Linked DNA regions of Homo sapiens: regions 2, 3 and 4 are each linked to region 1. Evidence: promoter capture Hi-C in 16 types of primary human blood cells and fetal thymus (Javierre and others, 2016). All regions are on one chromosome and are shown on one strand. The core of a region is centred on a gene start or on the middle of the fragment in contact, and the rest is flanking DNA. Distances in the headings are between cores, read along the strand shown. Region 1 holds the start of PLRG1 (pleiotropic regulator 1). Region 2 overlaps GUCY1B1 (guanylate cyclase 1 soluble subunit beta 1). Region 3 overlaps GUCY1B1 (guanylate cyclase 1 soluble subunit beta 1). Region 4 overlaps GUCY1B1 (guanylate cyclase 1 soluble subunit beta 1).

What was found. Contacts are between HindIII fragments. The CHiCAGO score rates a contact against its expected background, and 5 or more counts as called.
Region 2: a fragment that was not itself captured here is called in contact with the fragment with the promoter of PLRG1 in region 1 in 2 of 17 cell types (total B cells and naive B cells); the score reaches 7.9 in total B cells.
Region 3: a fragment that was not itself captured here is called in contact with the fragment with the promoter of PLRG1 in region 1 in 3 of 17 cell types (naive B cells, monocytes and total B cells); the score reaches 8.2 in naive B cells.
Region 4: a fragment that was not itself captured here is called in contact with the fragment with the promoter of PLRG1 in region 1 in 2 of 17 cell types (monocytes and total B cells); the score reaches 6.3 in monocytes.

Annotation. Positions count from the first base shown.
Region 1 is chr4:154,546,995-154,552,474 of GRCh38, forward strand. It overlaps PLRG1 (pleiotropic regulator 1), which reads right to left and starts at 3,406. Exons shown (of 15, transcript NM_002669.4): 1 at 3,306-3,406; 2 at 1,835-1,941; 3 at 717-859; 4 at 17-70. The coding sequence starts at 3,314. RefSeq lists enhancers at 3,510-3,559, 3,580-3,739, 5,123-5,417. The HindIII fragment of the contact is 1,608 bases long and covers 2,042-3,649 here.
Region 2 is chr4:155,802,318-155,807,797 of GRCh38, forward strand. GUCY1B1 (guanylate cyclase 1 soluble subunit beta 1) reads left to right here. Exons shown (of 14, transcript NM_000857.5): 10 at 25-262; 11 at 1,307-1,447; 12 at 2,276-2,430; 13 at 2,786-2,912; 14 at 4,069-5,480. The coding sequence ends at 4,092. Among named protein-coding and RNA genes, the nearest start is that of GUCY1B1, 46 kb to the left of the region's middle. The HindIII fragment of the contact is 671 bases long and covers 2,655-3,325 here.
Region 3 is chr4:155,782,724-155,788,203 of GRCh38, forward strand. All of the region lies in intron 4 of GUCY1B1 (guanylate cyclase 1 soluble subunit beta 1), which reads left to right. Among named protein-coding and RNA genes, the nearest start is that of GUCY1B1, 26 kb to the left of the region's middle. The HindIII fragment of the contact is 5,993 bases long and covers 1-5,480 here.
Region 4 is chr4:155,760,645-155,766,124 of GRCh38, forward strand. All of the region lies in intron 2 of GUCY1B1 (guanylate cyclase 1 soluble subunit beta 1), which reads left to right. Among named protein-coding and RNA genes, the nearest start is that of GUCY1B1, 4.4 kb to the left of the region's middle. The HindIII fragment of the contact is 2,108 bases long and covers 1,987-4,094 here.

The DNA of each region.
Region 1 (5,480 bases), core at 2,156-4,655:
ATAACAGCTCACTAACCAGGTCCTGGTGGGTATGGATGTGTACCTGCCACAAAGTATTCAACTTCTTGTCCTAAAAAAACACAAAAAAAATCAACAGTAGTGAATTTACCTTATACAAAAGTTATCATCTCTTTAAATGTATCAAGTAATATTAAGTTTTCAACTGGATCTATCAAATTTTCTCAACTAAAGTCAAGCCTCAGAAATAAGGGAAGTTGATCACTTTTGCTTTGATCTCTGTAAACCATGTCCTTGACCATTTGCTATATAGCAATGGTATACAAAGAAGCCCTCCTATCAAGTGACAATCCACTCTGGTATTTCTTCCAAGCAAATGGTTTCCTGTGGAATCTTGAATTCTCTTTACTTATTAAGATTTCAGTATTTAATTTCATCTTTCTGAATTACAGACAAGATAGATGGTGTCCTCACAGGTTAAGAATATTCTCCAATTTTTTCCTTTAATCTCTACTGTGACCTTCTCCACACTCTAAGAATCTCTGCCATCATTATACTACCATTTTTATTTCCTATAAGAAAAAAGTCATCAACAGTATTCCCATGAGGATCAAAACTTCCATTATAATACAGGTACGGCCATTAAATACTGTACGACCACAATAAGTCCTGCCAGGAGGGGCAAAAATAACATATTTTATTTTTCTGTTTTTAAAATTCACATATAAGTCTGACATTTCTGATAATACCATACTCACCTTGATTGGCAGGGTACTGTTTATGAACATATGAATCCGTTGCATTCTGAGGACCCTTCTCTTTAAGATTTTCTTTTGAAGTAGGCATATGCAACACAGGACCATACTCATTACGAAGCTTGATTGCCATTTTTCGTTTGTGACTATTTAGAAATTATAAACATAAGAACGTATCCATAAATACTTTAAAACAAACACTTAGCTTAAGTTTGCCCATTCACGTAGAAAAAGTTTCTAGTATGATTTTAAGTAGTATTTAAAAGAATCAAAAATTTCCAAGGGCATTTCCCCACCATATCTGTTCTTTTGCTTACATTCGACCACACAGCATTCATTAAACCTACGTAATATTTTAGTTTGTTACCTAATAAATAGAAAACCTTTTATGATAAATTGTCAAGGGTCTGACTGAAAGATATACAGAAACTAACATACCCTTTAAGAAACCTCAAAGTCAATATACTTTCCTTCAAAATATAAATATAGTAAAAACTCTATAGCAACCTTTACTAGATGTATCCAAACAGGTTAGTTAGAACTAATCAAAGTACTTAATTGGTTCAATATCTTAAAAAGAAATGCATTTATATTACTTTTAAAAATAGTCTACTTTATAAATTAAATATAAATGCTTGTTTGAGGAGTTAAGTAGATTTTAAAAAGGTAAAGGACAAAGAAGGAACACTGCACATAATGCATTCCCAGACTGGAGCTGGATATGTAGAACCAAAAATATGCCACCACTCAAAAATCTTCATCATACTAACGAGAAAAGATGGGAGTAGAGGTACTAGCCAGGTACAATTTCAGCTCAGCAAGGCTCTGAGAGCAGCGGGAAGCTGAAAGCACATACAAAGTGATTGATTATAAAATAAAATACCTAAAAGGGACTCTCTTAATTACTGGGTATTTGTAAAATGCAATTAATTAATGGAACTTTTACTGTAAAAGGCCAAAAAAAAAAGTTAAATCAGCTTAAATTATGCCAAAACACCACTCATTATTGAATAATTAGCCCATGACTAGCTTATCTTTAAAGGACTCCCTCTCCCTGCTCTCTTCCCCTAGTATTAGAATGTTAAGTATTTTAGCAATTGAAAAAAAAAAACTACACCAACCTCTCTTCATCTAAAGGCACAGGTTTTCCATTATCAGCTACAAACATGTCATGGGTCCTCTTCAACGACCTGAACACAAGGGTGTGTACAGAATGTTTCTGTACCTCCTAAAAAAAAAGAATGTAATTACACACCTATCTACAAATTACACAAATCATAACCTAAAGTCAGATTGATTATACACTTCACGTGTTTAAATATGTAAAAAGCTTTATACCACTCACCATAGCTACTTGTTGCAAGCTACAGGAGTCAAGTTCAGAGAAGAGGAGGAAGCTCCTCTTTGGCTAGAACCTCAGGTTTAGCAACTGAGTGATGCCGGAGTTTAACTTACTCAATAAATATTTACTGAGCTCCTACTGTGTGTCTGGCAGGTATTGTGCTAGAATCTCACAATAGAATGATAAAAAGGTGGTCATGGTCCCTGTGCTCAAGAGGAAACAGACAAATAAAAAGTAAAATAATTCCACATTTTGATAAGTGCTATGAAGGCAACAAGCAAGGCGCTGAGTCAGGGAATGAAGGACTAAGTATAATTGTGAAAGATTTCACTAAGGTGATATTTAAGCAGAAAGGGAGTTAGCCTTGCACAAAACAGAGGTAAGAACGAACCAGGCTGATGGAAATGTCATGTAAAAAAAAGTTCAGTTAACTGAAATAATACAAGGAGCGCAGTACAGCTGTGTATGGAGGATGAGATGGTGCTTTGTAGCTGCAAGGGTAGACAAGGTCCAGATTAGGTAAGGTCTTTTAGACTATTACAACAGCCTATATTTTGTTCTAGCAACATAGGGTCAGTAAAGGGTTTTAAACAAGAAAGGTATGAACAACTTACGTTTTAAACAGAACAACTTATAGAACAAAATGGAAGCAAGGAAACCAACCAACGGGGAGCTAATGCACCAGTCCAGGTGAAAGATGATGTTGGTCTCAATTAAGGTGGACTGCAGCGGATATGGAGAAGAGTGAATGGAATCAATAAACATGTGGGGTAAGATGGACAAGACCAGCTAACAGCGTTGGCTGTTCATGCCAGGGAAAGATGTAAAGAACGGCAAGTTTTTCTGGGGGTAGAGGTGAAATAAGAGACGACCTGAACGCAAGATAGAGAAGACTACCAATCTTTTAGGGCACAGACTCACTGACACTGCCCCGAGGGCGGCAAGTACCAGTGGTCGATCACCAACAGAGGCCCCGCCTCCGAGGACACTTTCCAGCTCCCAAGAGTCAAACGAGGACTGGACGAATTATCTCAGGCTTCGCGCCCAGGCTGAACCTCCGACTCGGGTTCTCATCCGGCTTCTACCCCTTCCCCGAAAACCCGAAGAAGAGACCACTCGGCCTTGGCCAAATAGCTCCCCTCGTAGCCTCTTTTCTCTCTGGACTCCAAGTACTCTCAATCCCCCACGCGCACTGCCAAAAAAAACAGTCCAGAGACAAACGACTCTTGAGAGCCCCAGTGTCACTTTACCTCGACCATGATGCTACCGTGTATCCCACCTCCGGCAGGGAAGAAACTCTAATCACTAACGCAGTACCCGCCGCCACAGCTGTGCAGCACCTTCCGGAATTGGGCGCCCAGGCGGCGGATGTGATGCAAGCTCTGCGCACGCGCGCTAGTCTCCCTCGGCCATCTAGGATCAGGAGGCGGGTCTCCCTCCTCGGGACCGCCTCTAGGGCGGAGTCTCGAGGCTGAAAGCCGGAGACTCCTGGAAGGGCCTGGGTGGAGGGTTTCACTCGTCCCTCTGAAGAAATCTTAGAATTATGTTTTCTGCCTTAGTTGGGGTCCTGGTTGTTCGTGCTGTATTCCCCGGAAGCTTAACGCTTTTTATTCAGAGAACCTAAGCGTCTGGAGAGCAAACTCCCGTGGGCTCTATCTAAGGCATTTCCACTACCTTGATCTCTTTGGAGGTCGCCTGCGTGCTTTGTGTCTCCTGGTTCTAATCCTGGCGAGAAGCACTTGGACACTTGTAGGCTTAACACCTGAAAACAATTTCGCTTAAACAGTCCAGTAAACACTTGTTAAGTGAACGTTGAGGAATAGCTGTTTTAATTTGGAAAATTTTGACATGTAGTTATAACAAAACCCCATATTTATTTTCTGCTAATAGATTTTTTTTTTTAATTTCTCAAAACTGCATAGCTCTTGTCCATTTCCTAGTTGCCTGCTGATTATTGTGGCTTCAACAATGCCAGGGTACAGCTTTTCAAAGCTGGTAGAAGACACAATTGGAGACTTTAGCCATTTTTATTTATACATATCCTTGTGCCAAGTATTGGTATTTTTGCTTTCTACCCTGGTAAAATCTGTGGTTTGTGATCAACCCTACCCAATTATTTTTCTATGTAAAAAAAAAAATGGATGGACTTAGGCATTTACAAACTTAAATAGACAAACATTTTACTGGCCCTGTTTCAGTTTCACTAATCCTGTCCTGAGAGCATACTGCTTACACTTTGAGAGGGGGAAAAAATCTAGCAAAAGAATAGCAATATAAATCAACCTTACTTGGAAATTCATTAAAAACATTAAGGTCATGGGTTTTTGTTTGAGACAGAGTTTCGCTCTTGTCGCCCAGGCTGGAGTGCCATGGCGCGATCTTGGCTCACTGCAACCTCAGCATCCCAGGTTCAAGCTATTCTCCTGCCTCAGCCTCTGGAGTAGCTGGGATTACAGGCGCCCGCCACCATGCCCGGCTAATTTTTGTATTTTTAGTAGAGACAGCGTTTCACCATGTTGGCCAGGCTGGTCTTGAACTCCTGACCTCAGGTGATCCGCCCGCCTCGGCCTCCCAAAGTGCTAGGATTACAGGCATGAGCCACTGAGCCCTGCCTTAAGGTCATGTTTTTACTTGAAGATACAGCATCTCTGAATTTAACTGTGAGTTTGGCCTAAGAATTGCTTTTCTGTAAAGGTGGCAGGTGATGGTATTTCCTTGCAAGAAAATACCATAATTGTAAAATATATACTTGATGAACTAAATAATATACTCACCTATTAATAATAACTATAGAAAATAACATGATTTGAAATGACAATAAAACCATAGAAACCTAAGCAAGACTAATATATATGGCAATATATTAATTGTCTAGTTGGATCTATTAACTTTTTACATATTTAATCATCCTGGAGACATTAATTTAATTTCTCAATAACAACATGGTAATGATTGAGGTAAATTGCCTCGAATTTGCTCCTTTTAAAACACTGTCGTGAATTTATAGAATGATGTCATCCCCTTGAAAGTTTACAATATTTTAGATAAATATAGAACTCAAGTGACCCTATTATTTAGTTCAGGGATTCATGAATTATGTATATTGTAGGAAAATTTTGTATTTATATGGGAATATGTTTTATTTTCTGGAGAAAGGATCCACAAGTTTAATTGGATTCCTGAAAGGCTCCGTCATACACACATGGCCTGGCTGACACCCGAAGCTGCCTTATTTGAACAGCAGGTGTCACCACTGCTCTTTGTACGGGCCCTCAGGGCTGTCCTTAAAGCAGACACGGCAAGTAACTTATTAATATAAATTATTAGTATTATGTCTGTGTAAAACCAAGAATACAAGTTTTAAGGAAAGCCCTCCTTCTTTAGGCAAGATTTTTTAAACTCACCAATACAGAAACTCTTTTTAT
Region 2 (5,480 bases), core at 1,740-4,239, 1.3 Mb after region 1:
CTTTCTGCTGATCCCACTGAACAGATTGCTGTATTCTGTCCTTCCTCCGTCTGTTGCCAATGAGCTGCGGCACAAGCGTCCAGTGCCTGCCAAAAGATATGACAATGTGACCATCCTCTTTAGTGGCATTGTGGGCTTCAATGCTTTCTGTAGCAAGCATGCATCTGGAGAAGGAGCCATGAAGATCGTCAACCTCCTCAACGACCTCTACACCAGATTTGACACACTGACTGATTCCCGGAAAAACCCATTTGTTTATAAGGCAAGTGTTCTTTATCGCTGACTGCAGAGCTATCCAGAGGCTGGCGTTCTGAGACTCCCCTCCAGAGGCCATGTCATCACAGCTCTCTGACTCCAGCACTGCAGCCTTGAGTACAGTGAGCCTCCATGTATTCACTCTTTACCATGTTCTTAAATAATTGCCTCTTGTTATAAAACTGTCTCTTCCTTGTAACCACAATGAATGTTTCATGAAGTGGGTGATTCCCTGGTTAAAATGAAATGTTCACCATCTTATTTGCACTTAGGCTAACAAATCTGGACAGGCTGTTTATCACATGTAGTATAAACATAGCATTCATTTTAGTCCTCTGCAAGAGACATTTTTACTGAGATATATAAATGCTTTGTACAGTAAAGAAGTCATGAAGCATGAGAAGGACTCAGATTTGCGTTTAGATAACATCAACTTGAAGAAGATAAACATTTATAAGGCGTTTTTGCCCTTTGTTTCATTTAGAAATAAATATAATATTGGAAAAAAGAAGTCAGTGGAATATTGCTACATAAAGGCAAGAATGTTAAGTAAACCATCTCTAGATATCTGGGGTAATATAACTACACAAGGACTATTTATTTTATAGTCATTTTCTGAGGTACACTCTAGCATGTGGTGAGCACATCATACAAACAAATGATTAATGACCGTGATAAATCACTGAACTTGAAATGGTGGCTCTCCATGCCGTCAAGCCATCACTGTTTTAGGTAGAAATGTAAAAAATTATTCTTCTGAATTATAAAGTTATCTGAGGTGAGAAATTAATTGCTTACTAAAGGAAAAATAATTCTATGTCTGTACCTGCCCGTCATCAAAGACCCCAAGTGTCCATCATGTGTGTAAATTATAAGTAATTGCAAGGTTTCATTTTGTTGGAGTTGAATATATTAGAATTTTAAGAGAATTAAAGGGGGAGGGAAGCTTAAAGTTGCTGGTAGACTTGAAAAAATATGTTTTTTGTTAGGGTAATAAATGAAACAGTCTTTTTTATGCTAACCGTGAACATCTAAATATATGTACTGTTAGGTGGAGACTGTTGGTGACAAGTATATGACAGTGAGTGGTTTACCAGAGCCATGCATTCACCATGCACGATCCATCTGCCACCTGGCCTTGGACATGATGGAAATTGCTGGCCAGGTTCAAGTAGATGGTGAATCTGTTCAGGTTAGTAAATGAAGTAGATATTGTAATAATGGTATGTAAACCTTTTTGGACAATTGATTCATATCGTTGTCCGGAAAATCATTAACGTGTATAAAGAAGGGCATCTTGACAACAAAGACTATAGCATTTCATCCAGCCCACTGTACTACATTCTTTCATAGACATGGAGATTTATCTACCTGTTTGAAATTATCTAGTCCGTTTCATGTACTGAAAGTCATGGGGATGAGAAAAAAACCTCTTGTACCTTCTAGTTTATTTTTTAAAACCTCTTTCATGTCTCATGTAAGTTACTAGATTCACATCTTTGAAATCTTCAGACTTCAAATGTTTCTCTTGAGATAGGATATTTCCCTGGGGAGATAGAGATTTCATGGAGGGCTTTTGAAGTTGTCCATAATATGCTTGAAATTCTTATAGACATCTCTTACGATGTTATATGATGACTCTACATTATTCTGTAATATAAAGTAAGCAAAAATTCATGTGTTACAGGAACAGAAAACCAAACACCACATGTTCTCACTCATAAGTTGGAGCTGAACAATGAGAACACATGGACACAAGGAGGGGAACATCACACACCGGGACCTGTTGGGAGTTTGGGGGCAAGGGGAGGGAGAGCATTAGGACAAATACCTAATACGTGCGGGGCTTAAAACCTAGATAATGGGTTGATAGGTGCAGCAAACCACCATGGCACATATATACCTATGTAACAAACCTGCACCTTCTGCACCTGTATGCCAGAACTTAAAGTAAAATAAAAAAAAAAAAATTCATGTGTTAGTGATCAAAATGATTGAAGCAAAGCTTTCTTTTTTGCAGATAACAATAGGGATACACACTGGAGAGGTAGTTACAGGTGTCATAGGACAGCGGATGCCTCGATACTGTCTTTTTGGGAATACTGTCAACCTCACAAGCCGAACAGAAACCACAGGAGAAAAGGGAAAAATAAATGTGTCTGAATATACATACAGGTGAGAGAAAATGTCTTGGTATTTACTGATTTGCAAAGAAAATGTGTCTTTGCATGTGGTTTAATTCTCTGAGAGATTTTGTTGCTTTAACAGAGTTATCACCTTCACTCTTCCCCACTGCTTGTAGAGTTGTTTACTTTTTATTTGAGAAGATTGTGTCATTATTTCCATTTTATATGATTTCACATCATCTTAGGAAATCCTGATATGATCATTGTTTCTAAAGCTTTGAGTTACCTTTCAGTACAACTTCAGCATTTGTTCTTGCCATCTTGGTTTATAACATGATACATGTCACCTTCTCTATAAAACTTGTGTATACTTCTCTCTCTACTCCCCTTCCCTTGTCTTTTAGATGTCTTATGTCTCCAGAAAATTCAGATCCACAATTCCACTTGGAGCACAGAGGCCCAGTGTCCATGAAGGGCAAAAAAGAACCAATGCAAGTTTGGTTTCTATCCAGAAAAAATACAGGAACAGAGGTATGACTAATCAAAGTGTAATTTGCGTACTTAAGACAGAGTATAAGTATGGAAAACTAAAGCAAAATCACTGAAAATGTATTTCATTTGAAAAGAATTCTTGCTAACAGAAATTAACTTCTAAGTAAAGCAGTGGAAATAATTGAACATTAATGAGCCAATTACAATCATAAGTACTTTTTAGGGGATACTTTAGTGATTTTTGTCCTCTAATGAAATGAAAACCAACAGACTGGATTGAGAAGGCTGCTTTTTTTCTTGCTGTTGTGGTTGTTTTGCTCTTCCTCTGTAGTCTGGCTCAAAGGTAAGTGGGCTGTGAGGGGCTCCCCTGACCCCTTTCCTCAGCTCTCTAAGTTGGCTCTGAGATCACCACAGATAAGGGCTGTGGTTCATGGGAGGTTTCTTAACCATGAAGCTTAAGATCCTTTTAAGGGGCAGGCTATCTTTCTATGGAGTGATTGGGGAATTTTGGAAATCCTAGTCCCTCATGTGTTTCTCCTAGATAGATGAGTGATTTTTAACTTGCTAGAATCTGATTAATTCCTTAGGGAAGATTTAAGTTCTTTCTACTACTATGGTTATACTCCAGGCAGAGCCCATGTGCTAGAATGGACTTCAGAACAGTGGCACATCCAAAGTGGAATCACACCTCTCATAGAGGCCTTGCACACACTAAGATCATGGCTAGCCTCTTCCTAGCCTTTTGTAAGGAGTGGCATCAGAAGCAAGTTTGATACTTTGTTACCCTGTTGATGTGTTGTTTCCTCATGGGGGATAAGACTGCATGCTCATATTTCTCTTTTAGTGTGTATAAACTCTCTAAAGATGCTTTTAGGGCATAACAACTTCTAAAGGGAATAGAATGCCAGGGTTTGAAATATTTATCTTCTTTCACCTGGTTTAACATTAAATCATTTTCCTATGAGGTGGACATGCTTATTGATGTTCTTCTGATAAACTAAGCCGTAATTACCTCAAACATTGGTCATCTTAGTCGTGCGGTCCTGTTTTTCCCAGAATTATGGTGGGAATGATTTACAGAAACTGTAGATGTGAACGTGGATCACACTCTCATAAAGAGAAAAATATATTTAATTGATATTATAAACCTCACTATCACTGTAAATCAATCCCTCTTTTCTTCTGCCTATTTAAGGAAACAAAGCAGGATGATGACTGAATCTTGGATTATGGGGTGAAGAGGAGTACAGACTAGGTTCCAGTTTTCTCCTAACACGTGCCAAGCCCAGGAGCAGTTCTTCCCTATGGATACAGATTTTCTTTTGTCCTTGTCCATTACCCCAAGACTTTCTTCTAGATATATCTCTCACTATCCGTTATTCAACCTTAGCTCTGCTTTCTATTACTTTTTAGGCTTTAGTATATTATCTAAAGTTTGGCTTTTGATGTGGATGATGTGAGCTTCATGTGTCTTAAAATCTACTACAAGCATTACCTAACATGGTGATCTGCAAGTAGTAGGCACCCAATAAATATTTGTTGAATTTAGTTAAATGAAACTGAACAGTGTTTGGCCATGTGTATATTTATATCATGTTTACCAAATCTGTTTAGTGTTCCACATATATGTATATGTATATTTTAATGACTATAATGTAATAAAGTTTATATCATGTTGGTGTATATCATTATAGAAATCATTTTCTAAAGGAGTGAATTCTAAGTTTTAGGGGAAAAAATGCAATTTATTTTCAGACTCCCAAAGTAAGAATTAACATATCATGCTAAGAAAATAGTGACTATTTTGAAGTATGCTACTTCCCTTTCAGAAATATAGAATACACGTTTCTGTTATTAAAGTATTTGATTACTAATTCAAATCATATGGCAATTATAATTCTTCTAAAATGCTATCATTTGTAACTGTATCCCCTGTATTAAATCTCATTAACCACAGGCAGCTGTTACAGAAAGCTGCATTGTTTCACATTGAGCTGTTACATTAGTTCAGGCTAAATGTTGGGAGCTCCAACCACATCCAAGAATAAATCTGGAAACACACTGCTGGGATACTGCTGTTAGAGCCCTTCTTGGCCTTGTATTCCCAGAAATGAGCTCCCTTTCCTTAGCTTAGAAGAATGTGATTATATCCAGGACATCATGTTCAGAAAACTTAGTTTACTTTCAGCATAGAATGCATTACTGTTGGAATAATTGGCCTCTAGCTCTTAAATGTCTCTGATAACTTATTAATATCTATCTTTATAAAATAGAGTGCAACTACTTTTGTGTAAAAATGTTTGCCTTTAAATTTAGTATTTCATATCAGCACATCGATATATGTATAAATGTTCCATGTTAATGTGTAAAAGAGTCTGTAATAAATTATTTTTTTCACGTGTCTCTATACAGTTTTTATTTCAATAAAAATATTAACATTATTTTTCATTTTATTAATGCCATTATTTTGTAAATACATTTTACAATTTTGCCTATTTGCTACCATTATAAATTTTCACTGACTCCTCATAGACAGCATATTCTTAAATGCTATATTTCTTTTTAATACCAACAGAGTGACAGGAAATAAAGACTGGGCATGGAAAG
Region 3 (5,480 bases), core at 1,484-3,983, 1.2 Mb after region 1:
ATTTAAACTTCCTAGGCTAGAGTACAGGAAGTCTTGGTTTCCTTCAGGGTATCTTGGAACAGTTGCTGTTGCGATGGTACCTCTAGAAACCCAGACACATGAAATGAGAAGCACAAGCCACATGGAGAGGCCACGTGTAGACTGGCAGATAGCAGTTCTAGCTGGGCTCTCAGCAAAGAGCTGGAAATAACTACCAGCCATTTGATTGATCCATCTTGGAAAACCAGCCTGCTCCGGCATTCTGATAATTTCAGCCCAGTTTCCATCTGATTCCGTCCCAAGGGTAGAACTTTCTAATTTAGCCAGACAACCCACAGAACCATGAAAAATAACAAATAAATTATTAAAGTTGTTTGACATACAGCTATGGATAACTAGACCACTACTCTGTGCATTATTTTTCCCTTTATATTTTATGTCTGTGTTAATATGTGTGTATATGCTTGTACAATGAGTCAAGAGCTTTGAGAAAGCTGTATTTGATAAGATAATCTATTACCCCTGGGAATAGGAGCCATGTCAGTCCCAAACAGGGCTACCAATTCAATTTCGATGGTATTACATTATTATTACATTATATTGTTTTTACCTCCCCTACAAATTTACAGAGTTAAAATGCAATTAAAATGAGCAGCGAAGGCTGCCAGGTTGACTATGAAAATATACGTGGGCAAATGCAATTTTAGAGAACAGTTAGGATTTAAATTATGACCTAATTTAAATTAGAACTCAGGTGAATAGTTAGATCAGCGTTCTTTCATTATTTGCTGGAGACACTGGCTTCTTCAACTAACCTTGATATGTTGACAGTTTCAGTCATTCACTCAACTCAGATATATTTGAGTTTATCAACTAGCGCCTCTGTTCAGCCTGCCATGGGATTTTCTTCAATTCCTGTTGGCTCCAGGTTTTGACTTATTAAATACAACATTGTGATTTGGCCACCAGGAACAATCTGAGATTGATGACTGATCTAATTCTTAAATGTTTGTGCAAAGGGTTATTTTAGGAAATATGAGGATTTTCCTGAACAGCTGTAAAATTCTAATACTTCCCTAAATTATTTATATTTCTTAAGAAAAAAGAGCACCATTCACTTTATTTTTAACTTTGGAATTTTAAAAAAGAGCTGTTTTCTCAGCATCCACAACGCCAATTTCTATAATCCAATAATAAAAATAGTTTTATTTTTTAAAAACTTATGAAGGAAGATAAGAAGTATTCCAGAATTGTAAGGCTTTTCAGTTTGAATAACTGGTATATATTTTCATAATTTTTCAAAATATTGATTAATTGTTACATGTAGTATTATATAGACTGGATCTTTTTTAACATGAGTTTAAAAGCAATAGAATAAGAGAAATATTTTAACTGTTTTTCTTTAATTAAAATATTTCCTTGGAGAGGATGGTAATGATAAATTGATATAGCTTTAACGCTATTTCCATTTAAATAATTTTAGTGACTCTGGTACAGTTTCTTTTTAAATAGAGATTTTCAATGTTTCTTTTAGAAAAGAATCTCTATATCTTTTCAGTTGAAAAGCTATTTAATTCTCAAGAAGCAGCTCCAGGAAGAAAAGGCAGGAAAAGTATTATGAAAGCATTCACTTCCTACTCCAATCTCATGCTATTTACTTTGGTGTTTCTCATCATCTAGGGTTTGATGTTCCATTTTACTTAGGTCGACTTTGTTTAAATGTTTTATCTTCAAATTCCAAAATGACTTTTTTCTTATAAAACTTAACAAAATATTTTTTAAATTACATGACTCTCATTAAAGAATGTTGGTGTTGGTCCTATTTTTCAGAGGTGTGAGGGATAGAAAGAAAGGAAATACTATACCTCATCCTCCTTCATTGAAAAACAAAAAGAGGTTTGCAATGACTGGTTTTAAAGATTTCTTGCAGATCTAAACTGCAGTAATATTCTCAACACAGACAACTCCCTTCTCCCCATCCACTAAAACAAGGATTCTTGGATACTGAAAATGTTTTTCTTTAAAACGTTCAAGGCAAGGTCTTACCCATTTCTGTGGATCCTTTAAAAAATTTAATTAGATGTCCTTGAAACAGGAAAATCAGGTAGTTGACTTCTGGGGACTTTGCCCCTGTAATTATGTAAGAACTTATTTTTGGCATGCATATTACAAAAAGAAAATGTGCATTTATTTTGAAACATCCCAAGATCTTTAAAAATGTGACACTTTATTACTCAAAGGAATGATAAATTGTCTTTTGTTTTCTAAATCTGTGAAGTGTACTATGTCTGAAATTCCAGTAGAGTACCCCAGAATACCAGAACTAATTTTTCTTTTATAAATGATAAATGCAAGGTGATAAAATAAACTAGACTGACAGGGAGCAGAATTCCTGAGTAGAAAAACCACATTCATTTGCTTGTAGAAAAACAATAAAATGATATTAGAACATTAAGAAATGAAATTATTAAATTAAAACCTTTAGGTATCTCAAGATATCAAAATAGATGAATGGACCTACTCTCTATATTTTTCCTGTTTTTTGATTTTATGAAGCCTAGAAGAATGAATCAAAGCATATTTCAGATTTACATCATTGTTTCCTGGGAATCTACTTGTGCTGCAATGTAAGAGTTTACATTTTTTCAGTGTCTTTTTTACTTTCATACATATGGACATACTTCTTTGCAATTGGCCACACAGCTCTTTACTTTCTGTAAGTGCTTCTGTGGGTATATTTAGAAATAACACAGAATATCAGTTTTGATATGAAACTCTTATTCCCCAGAATACATTGTTAGAGCAATGTGGATGAACTATCATCTTTGTTTAGATAGCATTATCAAATGTAGAAAGGGTTTTCTCTTGGCCATTGTAAGAATCTTTTTGTAGCAAAAAAAAAAAATTGTAGCCTGTATATGAGGATGACACATTTATTAGCAATATAAGTGTACTTAAATGAAAATAACTTTTAATCATTAATCTCATTTCTTGTAATAGTCTGGCTGTGGTAATTACTTTAAATTTTGAAAGAGTAAAGCCAAGTAAGGAAGGTTGTAACTCAAGAAATCCCAAGAGTATTTTTTATATTAGATACTATCTAAAGAAAATCAATATTACATTAAGTGGTGTTCAATCTTTTATGATTCAGGAGAGCACTTTACTTGTTCAATTAACTAATAGTAAATTCAATAACACAGTAAATCTCTGGAGAGTTGGTTACTGCAAAAAGACAGAAAAGGTGAACATTCTCATTTGGTGTTTTTGGTATCCTTTGGTGAGGGTGCAGTGCCTATCTTTAGTGACTCAGGAAGTACTGACTTGGATGATTGTGTCCACTCTCTGACTTGCCCCAGCATAAGTGGTGCCAGTGACATAAGTGGTGCAAGTCGTTATTGCCTTATGCCATCTGCTTGAGTGAAAGTAGAAATGTTTTAATAATCCAGTAAAAAAGATGAGTATGAAAATGATATAAGCACATTGGTACATTGATTTATGAAATATGTAAGCATTCTGTATAGAAAAAATATTAAAATGCCTTTTTGAAGTTATTGTTTGGTTCAATTTCCTTTTTTTTTTTTTTTTTTTTGAGGCAGAATCTCACTGTGTCGCCCAGGCTGGAGTGCAGTGGTGAGATCTGGGCTCACTGCAACCTCCACCTCCTGGGTTCAAGCGATTCTCATGCCTCAGCCTCCCAAGTAGCTGGGACTACAGGCATGCCCCACCACGCCTGGCTAATTTTTGTATTTTCTTTCTTTCTTTTTTTTTTTTTTTTTTTTTTTTTTGAGATGGAGTCTCACTCTGTCGCCCAGGCTGGAGTGCAGTGGCGAGATTTCGGCTCACTGCAAGCTCCACCTCCCGGGTTCATGCCATTCTCCTGCCTCAGCCTCCTGAGTGGCTGGGATTACAGGCACCCACCGCCACACCCTGCTAATTTCTTTTTTTTTCTCTTAGTAGAGACGGGGTTTCACCGTGTTAGCCAGGATGGTCTTGATCTCCTGACCTTGTGATCCGCCCGCCTTGGCCTCCCAAAGTGCTGGGATTACAGGTGTGAGGCACCGCGCCTGGCCAATTTTTGTATTTTCAGTAGATGTGGGGTTTCACCATGTTGGCCAGGCTGGTTCTCGAACTCCTGACCTCAAGTAATCTGCCTGCCTCCGCCTCCCAAAGTGCTGGGATTACAGGTGTGAGAGCACGCCTGGCCTCAATTTCTTTTTTAAGTGAGCCAACAACACAGTACCTGGGCCTGACTCTATTAGAAACATTTTCTAAATGCAGCCACAAGCTCAATTTTGACTTTGTGAGAAATGCAGATAAAAATAAAACTCTCTCAGTGATTTTTTTTTTCTCACCCGATTTTCTTTCACAAAATGTTTCACAACATAAGTAGAAGTATAAGGGGTCTGAGAGGGCTATGAAGCAGTTCTCAGGTCGTCCCTTCTAAGGGAAGAGTCCTAATGAGAATGATTCATCATTGGAAGAACCTCTCATACTATTCAACCAAGTAAAACAGTTTTAGGACTCCGGGGTTTGTAGGTTATATATACCTCTTCAATACTTAGTGGCTGCCATATTGGATTACTTTTACATGGCAATAGCAGCCTCTAGAGGCAATCCGGATGAACTGATGTTTTTGCTAAGAATTAGCTTGACTCCATCAGGTATAATTGTGGGGAAGGAAACAGTAGATGCAGACGGTTCAAAAAGTCACCAGATTTATCGAGTTGAGGAGGTCATTGAATCATTTATCTGGATTAGATTGTCAAACTTCATGACCTAGCTCAAATCACATCTTCAGTTTGAAGTATTTTTAACTCCATTCTTTCAGTCTGAATTGTTGGCTTCCTCATTTGCTCATCAAAAGCCACTCTACACATCCATTTGTGATATAAACCATGAGCTGCTTAATCCTCATCATGCAGATCTGCATCCAAACATCTACCCTGCACCCAAGCCCACATGACACAGTGTATGATATATAATGCACATACAATAACATTATAGAGTGAATGCATGATTGAGTGGATGTGTGGAAGGGACAGAAAATTAATGCTGTAAGTGTCCTGTTAGAGTATTGCTCAAATGTGGACACCCGCGGAATCATCTCATTCTCACCGTAGTTTCCTCCCAGTAATCTCACTGGATTTTTCTGTTTTTCTAAATTGACCTCTTTGAGACATTTGGAATGAAAGCCATAGTTTAATTTTGGCATATCTCCAGTACTTTCATTTTAGGTATGTTCTTTTATGCCCATGACATTTTGAAACTGTTTTGTTGTTTTTCTTTTCTTCTCTTTAAAAATAATCACCAGTTGTGAATAGATTACTACTTGCTTGGTGTATTTGTTTTTTATTGCTACCATAACAAATGACCACAAACTTAAGTGCTTAACACAAATTTATTACCCTATGGTTTCATAAGTTGGAAGTCCATTGCAGGTCTTACTGGACTATATTCAGCGTGCTGTGCTGGTGGGACGGGACTGTGTTTCTTTATGTTGG
Region 4 (5,480 bases), core at 1,791-4,290, 1.2 Mb after region 1:
CCTTTTTCCTCTCACTCTCAAAAAATTTGCATTTAACTTATGGTACAGCTGACCACCACCAACTAGCTACTCCAAAACCCTATTTATGGATTTTCATATTAGAGCAACAGTCAGACTATCACATTGTAACAAAGGTGGAAGGAAGGGTTTCCTGGGTGGGCAGATGGGAATACACTGTTATTATTCACTCTGATTTCCTGTACTTAGTGATTTCATTTTGTTGTCTCAGGTAGGTGAGGCTTCCATGCTGTTTTTCCCTAAGCACATTACAATTATTAGCAATCAATTCTAACAGGCCTTATTATGCAGTTACATGATGGTGATTTCTCATAACGATCTGTTTCCATAGAAATGACCAGGGTTATATATTAAGCACGAAAATGTAACTTTTCTTTCCCCTGGATCTGTATCACTGAGCGTTTCTTTCATGTTTCAGAAACCATTTGTATTATCCACAGGGCATATTACCTACATATTATAAACAGAAGCCGAGATTTGGCAAGTATGTGGTTGAATCCAATGAGAACATAGGCACCAAAAGTTACTTTAGGATTTGAATTTTCTGGCCATCTTAATACCATTATAATTTTTATTTTGCTTAGTAGACAGATATCAACAAGGCAGACATCAAAAAAAGATTGTTAACAGTATAACTTAACTACCGAATTATTTTTAAGCCACTTCCTTTGTAAATTTATAAATGCTATATATATATATATTCTCCATATGATGCTTTTGCATCTGTAAGATAGAAATTCCCAAATTTGCTGGTAGATATGCTATGACAATGAATATGCTTAGAATTTTTAGAGCAGAATAAAAGATGGCTATTATGATTAAACAGTCATTATGTAATTTAACCAGATTTAGATTGTATATCCTAGCCATTATCAGTTTAGATCACTGTTAAATACAGAGATGAAAAATAATACTTTATAGAGTAATGTATCAGACATTTTAAAAAGTTAAAATTATCCAGAGATTTGTTTATATTGCTTATATTTTCCCAGAGGAAGTCCAAATATGTAAAGATTCAATTGACGAGAATTTAACTCTGCAAAATCAAGCTGAGAATATTGTTCCATTCTACTTTAAAAAATTATTTATTAACTTACTAATTTATCTTTAAGTAGCTTCCAACAGTATTCATAATTTGTCTAAAGGATAAAAATTCCAATCATCCACAACACAATTTTTCTGGTAAAAATGAAACAAGTTATATTGGTCTTTTCTTAAATAAAATTGCCTCAAGGTTATGCCCCTGCAAGGGAAAAAGTGTTAGTCACACTGGTGTTGGTAATCCAGGTGTTAGTGTTGATTCTTTATTTGTCTAAGCATCTTTTGGTGGACCCCAGCTGATCTTGGGTGTGGTTTAGTGTCTGGGCTAGAGAACATGGTTGAACTCTCTGCACTGAGGGCATTAAAGCTGCTCCTTGGTTTCCAACCCAATACCCCTGAGTAATTACTAAATGCTCCCTGGGAGAGCATTTGCTTTCCACAGAAAAGAATCTTGCTGCCTGGGGAGAGGGGAGGAGAACCTGGAGGAGTGTAATTGAAAAATGCTCCTTGGGTGATTCTGGTTCCTCCTCCCCTCCCTACCCTCTGCTTCAGGGAATATTAAAGCAGTCATTGGTCCAAGATGCTTTCAGTTTTAACTTTTATAAGAAATTGAATATAAGAGGAAAAACATTTTTTTTTGTCTCAGTAAGTACCAAACTCTTATTTTTTCTTTTGGTCTTTGAGAAACTATCTAAATTGATGTTTATACAAATTTACATTATACTTTTTTGCTTCACTAGGAAATGGCCATCCATCCTTCATGAGAAAGGATGGGAAAAGATGCCAAACATTTAATGACAAATAAAACCCTAAGTAACAGATTCCAGACAGCAGACAGAAAATTCTAAGTGGATAAGGGCCAAAAATGCTTCATTGTAAACTCAGTATCCACTTACACTCTTACCAACAATATAACCATTTCACAAAAGCTTTGAATTCCTCTTAAGAAGAAGAAAAATTGTCTAGACCAAGGGCCAGCAAACTTTCTCTTAAAGGGCCAGATAGTAAATGTTTTAGGTGTTACAGGCCAAGGTAAAACTGAGGATATTATGTAGGAATCAATATAACTATTAAAAATATAACCACTTAAAAATATTAAAACCATTGTTAGCTCTTGGACCAGGAAAACGCAAACAAACAACCAAACCAGACAAAGTGGGCTACATGTGATCCATGGGCTATAGTTTGATGACCTCTGATTTAGACCATAACAAATGTGAAAAAGCAAAAGAGACCTCTGAATCCATTTCAAAGTTTTTTTTGTTGATTTCATTTCAATATTCAAATAGTCCTTTTAAGAGGCTATGATTTCTAAGTAATGACAAAAAAATTATCAGGGTAGAAAATAAATAAAGTTAGGAGTGATACATCCTAGAAAAGCACCTAAATACTTGATTTCCCATCTCTGTTATCCTTCCATCAGCCCTGACTAAACTCATCATTGCGTCAAATTACTGGGTTTAATTTTAGATTTTTTCTCTGCTTTCTTTCCATATTTTTTCTGGGTAGCAGCGGAGGGAAGCAGTTAGAGACAGGTCTTGCTGTGTGCCCAAGCTGGTCTCAAACTCCTGTCATCAAGTGATCCTCTTGACTCGGCCTCCCAAAGTATTGGATTATATGCACCACCACACCCAGCCCAACTTTAGATTTTTTAACCTCACTGAAACATACAAATTAGGAAGATAGATCCAAAACACTGAAAAATCCCAAATGATTAAAAGTCTGTAAAGAAAGTACACTGTCCTGACTTAAATAAATCAGATAAAACGTTTATCTTTAATGAGTATAGTCAAGTGTTTTAGGCACTGAGGATAGAAAAGCAATGATGTAATCCTTACCTTCAAAAAAAAAATTCTAGAGATTTCATGATATTTTAGTCTTATTATTTTGTTTTTATTTTCCTGCCTATAACTCAAATACGGTAACCTTTTGTCTGTTGGATAGCATATACTTCCAGTTTTGAAATTAATGTGTCTTGTTAAATTTGCTAATCACAAATTAATCATTATGGTTCAAATAAGGAAACACTTTGCTATAAACTAGTTATGGGACTTTCCAAGTTGCCTAAACTTTCCAATCCTCCATTGCATAGAGGAAAAAATAATACTTCACAGAGCTGATGTAATGCATTGAATAATGTCTGCAAAATGCTTAACATAGTTCTTGACAATAGCTTAATAAATGATGATTTTTTTTTATTTTACTCTAGAATCAGAGTTTTTAAACTTTCCGTTCCCCAATTTACTTGAAAGATATTAAGCCCTCCTTTAAAAAATATTATTGCAGTCTATATTCTATCAGTCTAAATTTTTTTTATCACTCTAGGATAAGTAATCATCATCATCATCATTTTTCATCATTTTGTTTTGAAATGCAACAAATGCTCTTAATATCCATTGTATCAAAGCAAATTAAAACAAACAAAAGAGCACATCACCATGTTTTGCCGTGTTTATTCAGATTTTCATATTTTTGAAGGTGTGATTTAAACTTCTATACCTTTCTGTAGATCTGCTTAAGTAGTAATGAGCCTATGTATGTTTTAAAGTAGTAAGGATACTTTATATTATAAAGCAATTTCAAATTTCCAAAGTTTTGTTCTCTCTATAATTTTGGTTGACTGCTACAACATCCATTTGAAATAGGAAAGGACTTTACAGCTCAATTTTTTTAATAACAAAGTTGGTTTTCCAAGAGGTTAATTCCCATATGTAATTACTTACTGTCCCAGAGAATTACATATAGGAAACTGAAAAGTCAGAACTTCAGCCCTTGTTCTTCTGTTGCCAGGTTTAATGCTTCTTTTAAGATATAACTGTGAAATAGGAACTAATGTAGTATACATACAAAAATGAAACCACATTTATTTTCTTACCCAGAAACTTCCTCAGTACAAATAAACACATTAATATACAGACTAAGGAAACAAGTAAACCAGATCATTGTTAGGATCAGGATCCTTTTCTGTAGAAAGATCTGCCAGTTAGCCTGAAATACAGAGGAAGGCGTTGCATTGTATTGTGTGTTGGCTGTTAAGCTTACTAATGTTTGAAGTTATCTTTTGCAGCTGGAACTGGATGCCCAAGTGTATACTCCATCACATACCTGCTATTGAGCTCTTTGCATAGGGCTCTTCCAGAACCTGGACCATGTCTGTGAGCAGCATGGCAGGCACCTAGGTGATAAGGCGGGTCATCACATGATCTCAGGGAGTTTGTGGGTGTTTCTTTTGAGTTTTATTTTGGTTCTGATGATCTGAGGTATCCCCCAGAAATCAAGCTGGGTCTTGGAGTCTTTATTTTCCTTGCATTCTGTGATTTTTGAGAATTAAAAAAAAAATCAGAGGAGTACATCACTTAATTTGGCGTGTCGGAAGGATCTTTGCACATTACGGTGAGCATCAGAAATCAGAAAATCTGTATTCTCACTCTTAATGTACCCAGATCTAGTTTTGGCAAACATTTACTAAGCATTGTTATGATTTGCAAGAACAAAGTCCTTTCTACTTTCTTGCCTTTCTCCAGAATAAGGGGCTCTAGCAAATGTTTCTCTTTAATGTGTTGGAAAACTATAGTTATGGGTTGATGCTCTGCAGACATCAATAGGAAAACACACTTAAGGAAATGAATGCTATAAAGAAATCTAACTGGCTAGATCCGAGGGTGACAGCTCAGCAGACGTGAGTACTTGCAGCTTTTTCATTCTCTCCTTTGCCTCCTTGTTCGTTAAAGAGGAAATGGTGGGAGAAAAAATGTCTTTATTGTTTATGTCTAGCAAAATGAAGCATCTTTTTCTGTGTCAAACTATATCAAAAGATAGTGAAGTTAAAGTGGATTTTATTCCAGGTAAAAGTAGACATTCTGAAGTATTTATTGGACCTCCTCGTTACTGTGGCTTTGGTTCTGTTGCATATTCTGGTCTACTTCCCCTTCATTGTTGAATCATGAAATATGAAATTGTTAAATTTATTGAAATTCTTTGTGGTCAATCTTCAGATAACCCAAACATGGAAACCTTTCACTCAACTTGTCCTACATACCCTTAGCATTCCAGCCCCATGGGCCTGTTTTTAGTTTCTCAGCCATACCGAGCCTTAAATGTGTCCGTTTAACACCTGTGCTTGCTATGGTCTCCTTTTCTTCACCCTCCCAACCCTCCTGTAAATGTAAACACCTCTCAGCTTTGAGATGTCAAAGCAAATGTCACTTCTTAAGGGAACCTTCTCTCACATCCAAACTTTTCCCTTTCCTTCATAGTGCTGTAATGCAAGAGTTTGTACTTAGTATTTGTACTACTGATTAATGTCTATCCTCCATGACAATAGCCTCCATAACTCTTTCTAGAGTGCTCTCTCTCTCCCTCTCTCTATGTATTCAATAAAATATCAGGCTCTCTTTCTGTAATAAAAATATGGATGTTTA